2 separate regions of the Homo sapiens genome follow, and region 2 is linked to region 1. Evidence: promoter capture Hi-C in human tissues and cell types (Jung and others, 2019). All regions are on one chromosome and are shown on one strand. Each heading gives the region's core, a stretch centred on a gene start or on the middle of the fragment in contact. The rest is flanking DNA. Distances are from core to core; before and after follow the strand shown. Region 1 holds the start of LAMA2 (laminin subunit alpha 2). Region 2 overlaps LAMA2 (laminin subunit alpha 2).

Evidence for each region. Contacts are between HindIII fragments. The study calls those that stand out against the background at their distance.
Region 2: a contact is called between a fragment that was not itself captured here and the fragment with the promoter of LAMA2 in region 1, in 1 of the 25 tissues and cell types used here (heart left ventricle).

The regions. Positions count from the first base shown.
Region 1 is chr6:128,881,270-128,885,392 of GRCh38, reverse strand. LAMA2 (laminin subunit alpha 2) reads right to left here and starts at 2,255. Exons shown (of 65, transcript NM_000426.4): 1 at 2,036-2,255. The coding sequence starts at 2,147. The HindIII fragment of the contact is 5,954 bases long and covers 119-4,123 here.
Region 2 is chr6:129,260,773-129,264,895 of GRCh38, reverse strand. It overlaps LAMA2 (laminin subunit alpha 2), which reads right to left. Exons shown (of 65, transcript NM_000426.4): 15 at 4,074-4,123. Among named protein-coding and RNA genes, the nearest start is that of LAMA2, 380 kb to the right of the region's middle. The HindIII fragment of the contact is 4,785 bases long and covers 1-4,123 here.

The sequences.
Region 1 (4,123 bases), core at 1,006-3,505:
AACTACTGGAAGCCTAAGTTCTAAATTTGTCCTTTGAGAATAATAATATCTGAAGGTGAATAAAGATCGTGTACATAAGGCATTTTTAAATCATAAATCACTATCCAATTTTAAAGTTTCATGAATTTTACATACTTTCAACATTAACAGGTTTAAGTCATTTATCCTTGAGCCAACCTCCAGATATATTGTAAATGGTCTATGACAAAGACAATAATATATACTAGAATGCAGATTATAGCAGCCTATAGTAGATTGTATGTTGTAGCTATTTTGAATAAAATTCCTTATTGTATGTAGCATTTAAGTGGTATCTTGACAGAATGGTAGTATAAACCCTTCCTCCTGAATTCACTTCATCTTGTGCCTGGGTCATAGAAATCAGAGTTAATATTACCTTATTTGAAAAGAGAGTAAATAAGAAGGGAGAGGAAAAAAGAGAAATCCTGTGTGTGTTCAGGATAATTCTTAGCAACAATTTACTTGATCCTTACTCTGCATGCTTTGAGTTTCTGCCCCATTCCAAGTGGACATAAGGATTGGTGCCCCTGGCCCCTCATTTCTCCCAGCTGCCTAACATTATTAAAGTATTATGTCTTGTTTAAACACACCTTGTAATTGAGCAAAGTTTAATAGTTAAAAGTAGAATTTTTAAAAATAAGTGGCCAGAGATACTCTTAAAATCACTCTCGTAAATTATATTAATTAAGTCATATTGGCCCCATTTTACCTCTCAGAGAAGCAAAAGCAAAAATAGAAGGAAAAAAGTTATATAGTGAATGCAAGGTCATTTTTATTCCAAGAATTTTAATCAGGGAGTTATTATTATAGAAAGAGCTTGGGATATCTCTTTACTCCTTAAAAAATAGTACTGCTAAAAATGCTAGATTATAAGAACAAATATCAGAACTATTGACTTGGCTAGAAGTTAACTGGAAGAAGGATAAGTATACTTCAAAACTTAAGCAGATTCAGCCTCATTAAAACTTTTAAAAGCTTCTAACCTACAGATTTTGTACTCTTAGGTTAAACATTTTCATATTTAAAACCGAATAATAAATATTTCTTTTTTTTTTACTTTGATACAGGTTTTCCAACTTAAAGAATTGTTTGCTGAAATAATGTGTTACAAAGTATGTCTTACAATGCTGCACATGTGCTTCCTGTAAAATTCATGATAATAAAATAACTCTTCAAAGACTCCCCAAAGTTTCAGAAATGAGAGCTATATATACATAAACACTAAGAGGCTCTGAGGAGAATAAGTTATTTAAGTTACATTAAATACAGCCATCTTCCAAAGTCCTCCAAAGTGTATATCTAGTCACTGTGGCCTTAAAGTACACATGACATAGAAGTCTCCTCTGTATTTAAGCAAAAGGAGAAATTTCACGATTTCACTACAATAAAATAGGATATGAAGATAAGATGTGGGTTTGAAAAAGGTGAGGCTGGAGGCGCCATTGCCATGAAAGAAAAAAAACCACATAACTTCTTTAGAAATCCTGTTTTAAAAGTTGAAAACAAAGTTCTGTAAAACTTTATATATATATATATGTGTGTGTGTGTGTGTGTGTGTGTGTGTGTGTGTATATATATATATATAATTTTTTTTTGATGCATCAGCTACCCTCCATAAAGTCCCAGGATGAACCACACAGCTTGGGAAGCCTTTCTCTGCAGGATGGGCTCTGATTTGAAGAAATTCTTTTTTTTCCAATTGGAAAAAGTTTTCCTCTTGGAAAGATTTCAGAAATCAATTTACGGGATGTATCGTGATAGCAAGACCTCTTCGAAACTAAAGAACAATGAAAAGCACTCCCCGTTCCTTTTGCAGGACTTAGGTAATTCCCCCTACACTACGCTCTCATGGCATTGAACTTGAACTTGCTTCAAGTTCCTCTTGCCCCAGAGCGCACTCTCTGAAGGCGAAGCAAGACGGCAGTCCACAGACAGCAACTCTCGGAAGAGTGGAAGAAGTGAGGAATCTCGGTCCCGGCAAAGGATGCAACCCAAGCCCATGCCTCGACTGTACCTCTTTGCTGATGTGCCTGTGACTGCCGCTGCTGCTGCGGCCGCTGCGCCTGTACGCCCCCGAGGCCTCCGGAGAGCAGCAGAAGGAGGAGGACCCCGGCGGCTCCCGGCATCGTAGTGGCCGCGACCGGATCCACTTCTCGGGAGCCAGAGGAGTCGCTGCCGCCCTGTCCCCTGGCCTTGGCTTGTGAGCTGAGCGAGCAGCAGCTGCTGGGGAAGAGGAGGAGACAGCCCCCTCTGGCTTTGGCCGGGCCGCCGCCTGAGGGTGGGGGAGAAAGAGGACACTCCTCCACTCTCGCCTTCCATGGGCACGCGGCCCCAGGACGGCCCTCTATTAAAGGATCCTCCTTTCCTAGAGCGCTCCTTCCCTCTGAGACCGGATCATTCCTAGCTTGACCTGGTATCTGAACTTCTTTTAAATTAAAGAAAGTAATTGACATGAAAGCACTTTGAAATCTGTAAAATCCCTACACATGGAAAACATTATTTCTGGGAAATGCAAACAGCTAGGAACTTTTACCTCTTGAGAAAGGCCTGGCAAAACTGTGTGCAGCCACTGTGTACCTAGAAGATCCAAGACATCCCCAAGGCCAGAGTGTCTGAGAAGTTACTAGCCGAGGGAAGGTGCCCTCTGGGGACACTGCAGGCTGGGGAACTTACTGCTAGGTAGGCTGCTGGGAGGGCAGTAAAGGAAGTGCAAAATAAAACAGCCACCCTGGCGTCCCTGAAATGTTCCTGACCAAACTAATGGTTAGAATGAAGGCTTTCAGTTCAGTTAGGAGACATTTACTTAAAGGTAATAAAGGCCTTTGCAATAGTTTCCTTCCAGACTCACAATTTCATCTCTTCCAGTCCTGGTTTCTCCTCTTTCTCCTCTTTAACTCAACAGAACTACTGCCATTCCTAGTTTTTGTTGTTTTTTCATTTGTTTTTTATGGCCTAGGTCAGTGGTTCTCATAAGGTTTAAAACAACTCCATAATGGATTTTGTGAGTCGCAGGATGTCTTTTGGTTTACTCCGGGAACGGTGGGTACTGCAGGCATTAGTGTACTGTTGGGTCAGGGTGTGAGCTGTCCCTCAGTGGTCAGGACAGTCCTACAACATATTTTGTCCTTAGACTTCTGAATGGGCCACTGGTCATTTATGTAGTGAGTAAACAAACAAACAAAACAACAAAACCTTGCCTTATATTTGAAACCTAATTTAAGTTTGTTTCCACATCAAATTTTTGTGTGTGTTTTTTGTTTGTTTGTTTGTTTTTTTCTAGGATGCATCTACTATATACATTGAGAAGATAATTTACTTTGTGTTTTTGGATTTTACACCCATTTGTCAATGGGTGTAAAGATGTACTTTCAGAGAAGCACATCACTGATAACAACCTTGCCCATGGTACTTGAGTCACCAGCACAATATCAACATCCCATCGATTACACTGGGGTCATCTAAGAATAGGTGCAAACTTTTATTTTATTTTGCCTCCTAAGGAAGTTTTACCCAAGCATTTATATGTTGAAATACATATTGTCTTATATAGATAGTTTTCTTTTTTATAGTTAAGATGTATTGATTTATCTAAATATTATATTAAAGTTGAATTTTCTTTCAGTAAAATTAAGAGAGTATTGCTTTGAAGAGAATTGATTGAAAATCACTAGCCAAAGCCCATTCTTTAATATTATTCATGTCTTTTAGTTCTGTTAATATTATACCAGAAAGCTTTGTAATCCTTTTACCTTACTGTGGAAATTTGCAAAATGTAGTCTGCCCATGTCTGCACACTTATACATTATTTATTATTATAATAAACAATAATAAAACTTATATTTGAGAGTTTATTATAATTGAAGCCCCAGTGTTTTTAATTTGGTCTAATTTTGCCTAGAAGTGTTTTTCAGGTACATCTAATAGCAGAGAGGCACCCTAAATTAACCTTCTAAACCTATTGCTATTCTCAGAATGATTATTTTTACTCAACCACGTTGTGGCCTCAACTCAAATTAGTTAATCTAATAAATAATAAAAAATATTTATAAAAAGGAAAAGTTTTATTGAATATTTATAAAAAGGAAAATGATTATTTTTACTC
Region 2 (4,123 bases), core at 892-3,391, 380 kb before region 1:
TTTTTCACACTTCATTCCATTCTAATCTGTTTTGTGTCACCACCTCTCAATTAAAACTGCTCTTGTCCTTGTCACCAAATTCCATGCAGCCAAATTCGATGGACAATTCTGCAATTGCATTTTATCCAACCTTTCATCAGCCTTGGGCCTAGCTGACTCCTTTTCCTCCCACAATTTCTTTTCTCAACTTCATGACATCACACTTCCCAAATTTCTAGCATATTTCTTTGCTGTCTCCTCTGCTTTGACCCTGCTTCTTAACGTCAGGAGCTCCTCAGGGCTTGGGCTGGGCTATTTTTCTCTCTTTTTTAAATCAATTGCACTTTCTCCTGGGTAATTTTATTCAGTTCCATAGTTTATGACGCCTTCCAAAAACATATCTCTAGACCAGACAGACATGCTGAATTTAAGACCTGAATATTATAAATACACATTGACATTTACACTTCACAGCGTTTTCAAATCGAAAATTTCTAAACTGGACTATGGATTCCATGCCCCCACCCCCCCACACACACCAACTATTCCTCAGCTCAGTAAATGACACCACAACCAACTGATCAATCATTCAAACTGGTCATCTATGACTCATTCTTAAACTCTTTATTTCTTTAATCTCTCCCCTGACATACAGTCTCGAATCAGTAAGTCCTATTTGTTCTACTATCAAAATATATATAGAATATGCTAACTCTTTTTATATTCCCTGCCATGATCCTAACAGCAACTACTGTCATTGCTGTGTTCCACTGCAACTACATATTAACCCTTCTCCTTCCTATTATTCATGCCCTCCTAAGACACATTCTTCCTACTGTAGCCATAATGCCTTCTTCAAAAAAATGTAACTCAGGCTGGGTGCGTTGGCCCATGCCTGTAACCCCAGAACTTTGGGAGGCTGAGGTGGGAGGATTGCTTGAGCTCAGGAGTTCGAGATCAGCCTGTGCAACATATTGAGATCTTGTCTCTATTAAAACAAACAAAAAAAAATAGCTGGGCATGGTGGTATACACCTGTAGTCCCAGCTACTCAGGAGGCTGAGGCAGGAGGATCACTTGAGCTCAGGAGTTTGAGGCTGCAGCAAGCTATGACAGCATCACTGCACTCCAGCCTAGGTGACAGAGCAAGACCCTGTCTCAAACAACAAAAAACACCCCAAAACCCAAAAATGTAAATCAGATTACACTACTCCACTACTCTGCTGAAAGGCTTGTAATGATGTTCCATGCCATGAGAATAAAATGCTCATTTCTTATCATATGTGCAAATCTCCTCATGGCCTTGCTTTTCCAATCACTTCTTGTCCCACTTTTCCCCTTGCTTACAAGGCTCCAGCCACGCTCCTTCTTTCCAGTCCTTACAGACTCCACGATCTATGCTGCTTCCTTAGCAGCTGGTTTTACATCGTTGTCCCTCTCATTCTTCAACACTCGATTTAGCTGTCACCACCTCAGGAAGCCTTTCCTGACAAACTTTTACAAAGTAGACTTTCTAACCTTCATACAACCACTTGCAGTAACTTTATCATAGAACCCTGTTTATTTCACCCTGTTTATTTCCTTCATAGAATTTGTCACGTTTATTTCTATTTGCTTTCTGGCATATCGTTAATGCCACCACTCAGTGCAACGTCCTTGGGGACAGGGACAATATCTGTATTGTTAATGGCACTATTTTCCCTGTGTAGGGTCTTGTTTGTCTCAAAATACACGCTCATCAAATACTAGTCAGCTAAATGAAAGTACGAACAAACAAACAATTCTATGAGGTGGTTAATATTATTTTCATTTCATGGAAGAAGAAACTGAGATTGCATAACACTCTTTTTAATAGTATATCCCCTGTCTCATCTGTCAAGTGAAATCTATGATGACAGCACTATGAAAGTAAGAAAATTTTTGAAAGATTTAACTGCAGAACACTTCACAAGAAGTCAAGTAGAAATGAGAAAAAAGATCCTGAATCAACACTATGGCCCCAAATGAAGTAAAAGAGAATGTCTACAATGGAGTCATTTGATCCTTTTTTGGCCAGAGGTTCTCAGCAAGCTGGAATTAAGACATTAATGGTCTTTGGCGTTTACTCAGCTTTTAAGGGATCCCAGGATATTAGTGATAACAAGGCTAGAATGACTGGCCTTACAAACTACACTTAATTGAAAAGCAAATGAAATAATGAAAGGATAGGACTGAATAATAGTGAATTTAGGGACAGAAAGTTTTGATAAGGAAAAAATGAATTTTAGAGAGTAGAAGAAATGAAGAAGTCAGAGAGAAAATCCAAAGTTCCAAAATTCATTGTCTCTTGATTCAATTAAGTTCTTTTATGGATTACAAAGTAATTTTATTTATCAAACAATTATTGTGTGACAGATACAGGAAGCTTTTATTATCTCTCCTTTTTTTTTCACACTCAAATGCTTCTATCTATCTGTTACCATTATTTAGCATCCAATTTAAGATTTCTCCACTCCAGGACACTTTGCATCTCTCTCCACTGCAGTAGCTCATCCCTTTGAATGATTATTGCATGTATGTTCTGTAGCACATACCTCTCCCTTAATTATACAGTGCTGAGATCCCATTTTTCATAGATATTTATTGTCTCCCTAAACAGATAGGACAGGGATTATGTTGTATGTACTTATTAATAATTTATACAGGTAAATTTACAGAATTTATCAAACATATCTAGAATGTATTGAAAATATTTTTGAAGGAGAGAAGGAAGAGACTAAAAGCATAGCCAATTAAGCAATTGTAATATTCAAGTAATTTTATATTCAGTGGGCACTTAGAATTTGTATAAAAGATAATGCAAAGGATGAGAACAAAGTATGTGGAAACAAGCCTTAAAACAAGAGTAGAATTAAGTTATTTATTATGCCAATTGAGAGAGGATCTTAAAAGTTCAAATAGTTTGGAATCAAGAGCAAAAGGCTCTTGTTTCATCAAATACATTGTGTATTTTATATGTAAAATCAAATTTGGGTTGACATAGCTAATTGATATCCATAATTATTTTTCTCTCATCTACATGAATTTTGGAAAAGCAAGTACTTCTATAAGTTATATCTAGTTTTATTTCTAGAAAGGTGAATCTGAGCTCAGTTAAAGGAAACACAGCTGTCATGAATATGACTATAATGCGTATCTCTAGATGTATGCATTATTTTAAAAGTACGAGAGAACTGACAAAGCAATGCCTAGAGTATTTCTATAAATGGCATAATGAGGTAGTGTTCTGAAGTGGAACATCTCAGTACACTCAAATGATTCCTTAAAGGCACCATTTTAAAGAAACTAAGCTCCTATTTATCTGCTAGCCATGCGCTCTGTCAAGGAAATAGTGTTCACATTTTTTGACCAGGTTTCAAGTAAAACCAGTTTCACACCAGTTTTCTGTGTAAAAGAAAATACACAGAAGCAAATAAAAATTGTTACCTTAGGATGACACACTGCGGTATTAAGTAAGAACCATTAATCTTATTATAAATCTAGGATATTGAGACAACAATAAATATCTCAAACATTAGGTGCTAAACAAATCAAAGACCTGTAGGCAGTTTTCTATATCAAGGTATTTTTTCCATATATTATATTCTTGACATTCTGAAGATTATATGCTTCAGATGATTGTGATTTGGTTGTATTCTTAGAAATGAAGTAGAGGAAAAGTGTGATACAGAATTAAAAAATGAGAGAAAAGTAAAAAAAAAATAGAGTGCTAAATTTTGGATAACATTATGATGAAAATGAAGAGAAAATATTTTGAAGTGCTATTCTGCTACCATCCAGCATACAATAGATCAAATATGTAGCAAAGACAGAAACATCAGATTTTCAGTTATAGGCAAAATATCTCAGAGAGAAAGAGTTACAAAATGAAATTATGTGGTTAATACTCTAATTGAAAGCCACAGCTTTTGGTAGATATTCAAGTTTTGTTTTTAAGTGATACACATTATTTGTGTAATTATTGATAGAAAAAAAACAGCTCTTATTAGAATAGGTTATTGAAAGCAATGTTGAGGGAACTTTGAAAGCACTAAGGATACATTCTTGCAAGCTTACTTCACAAGAGGAGCCAGTATACCCTGGTGGGCACTGACACACTTCTACAG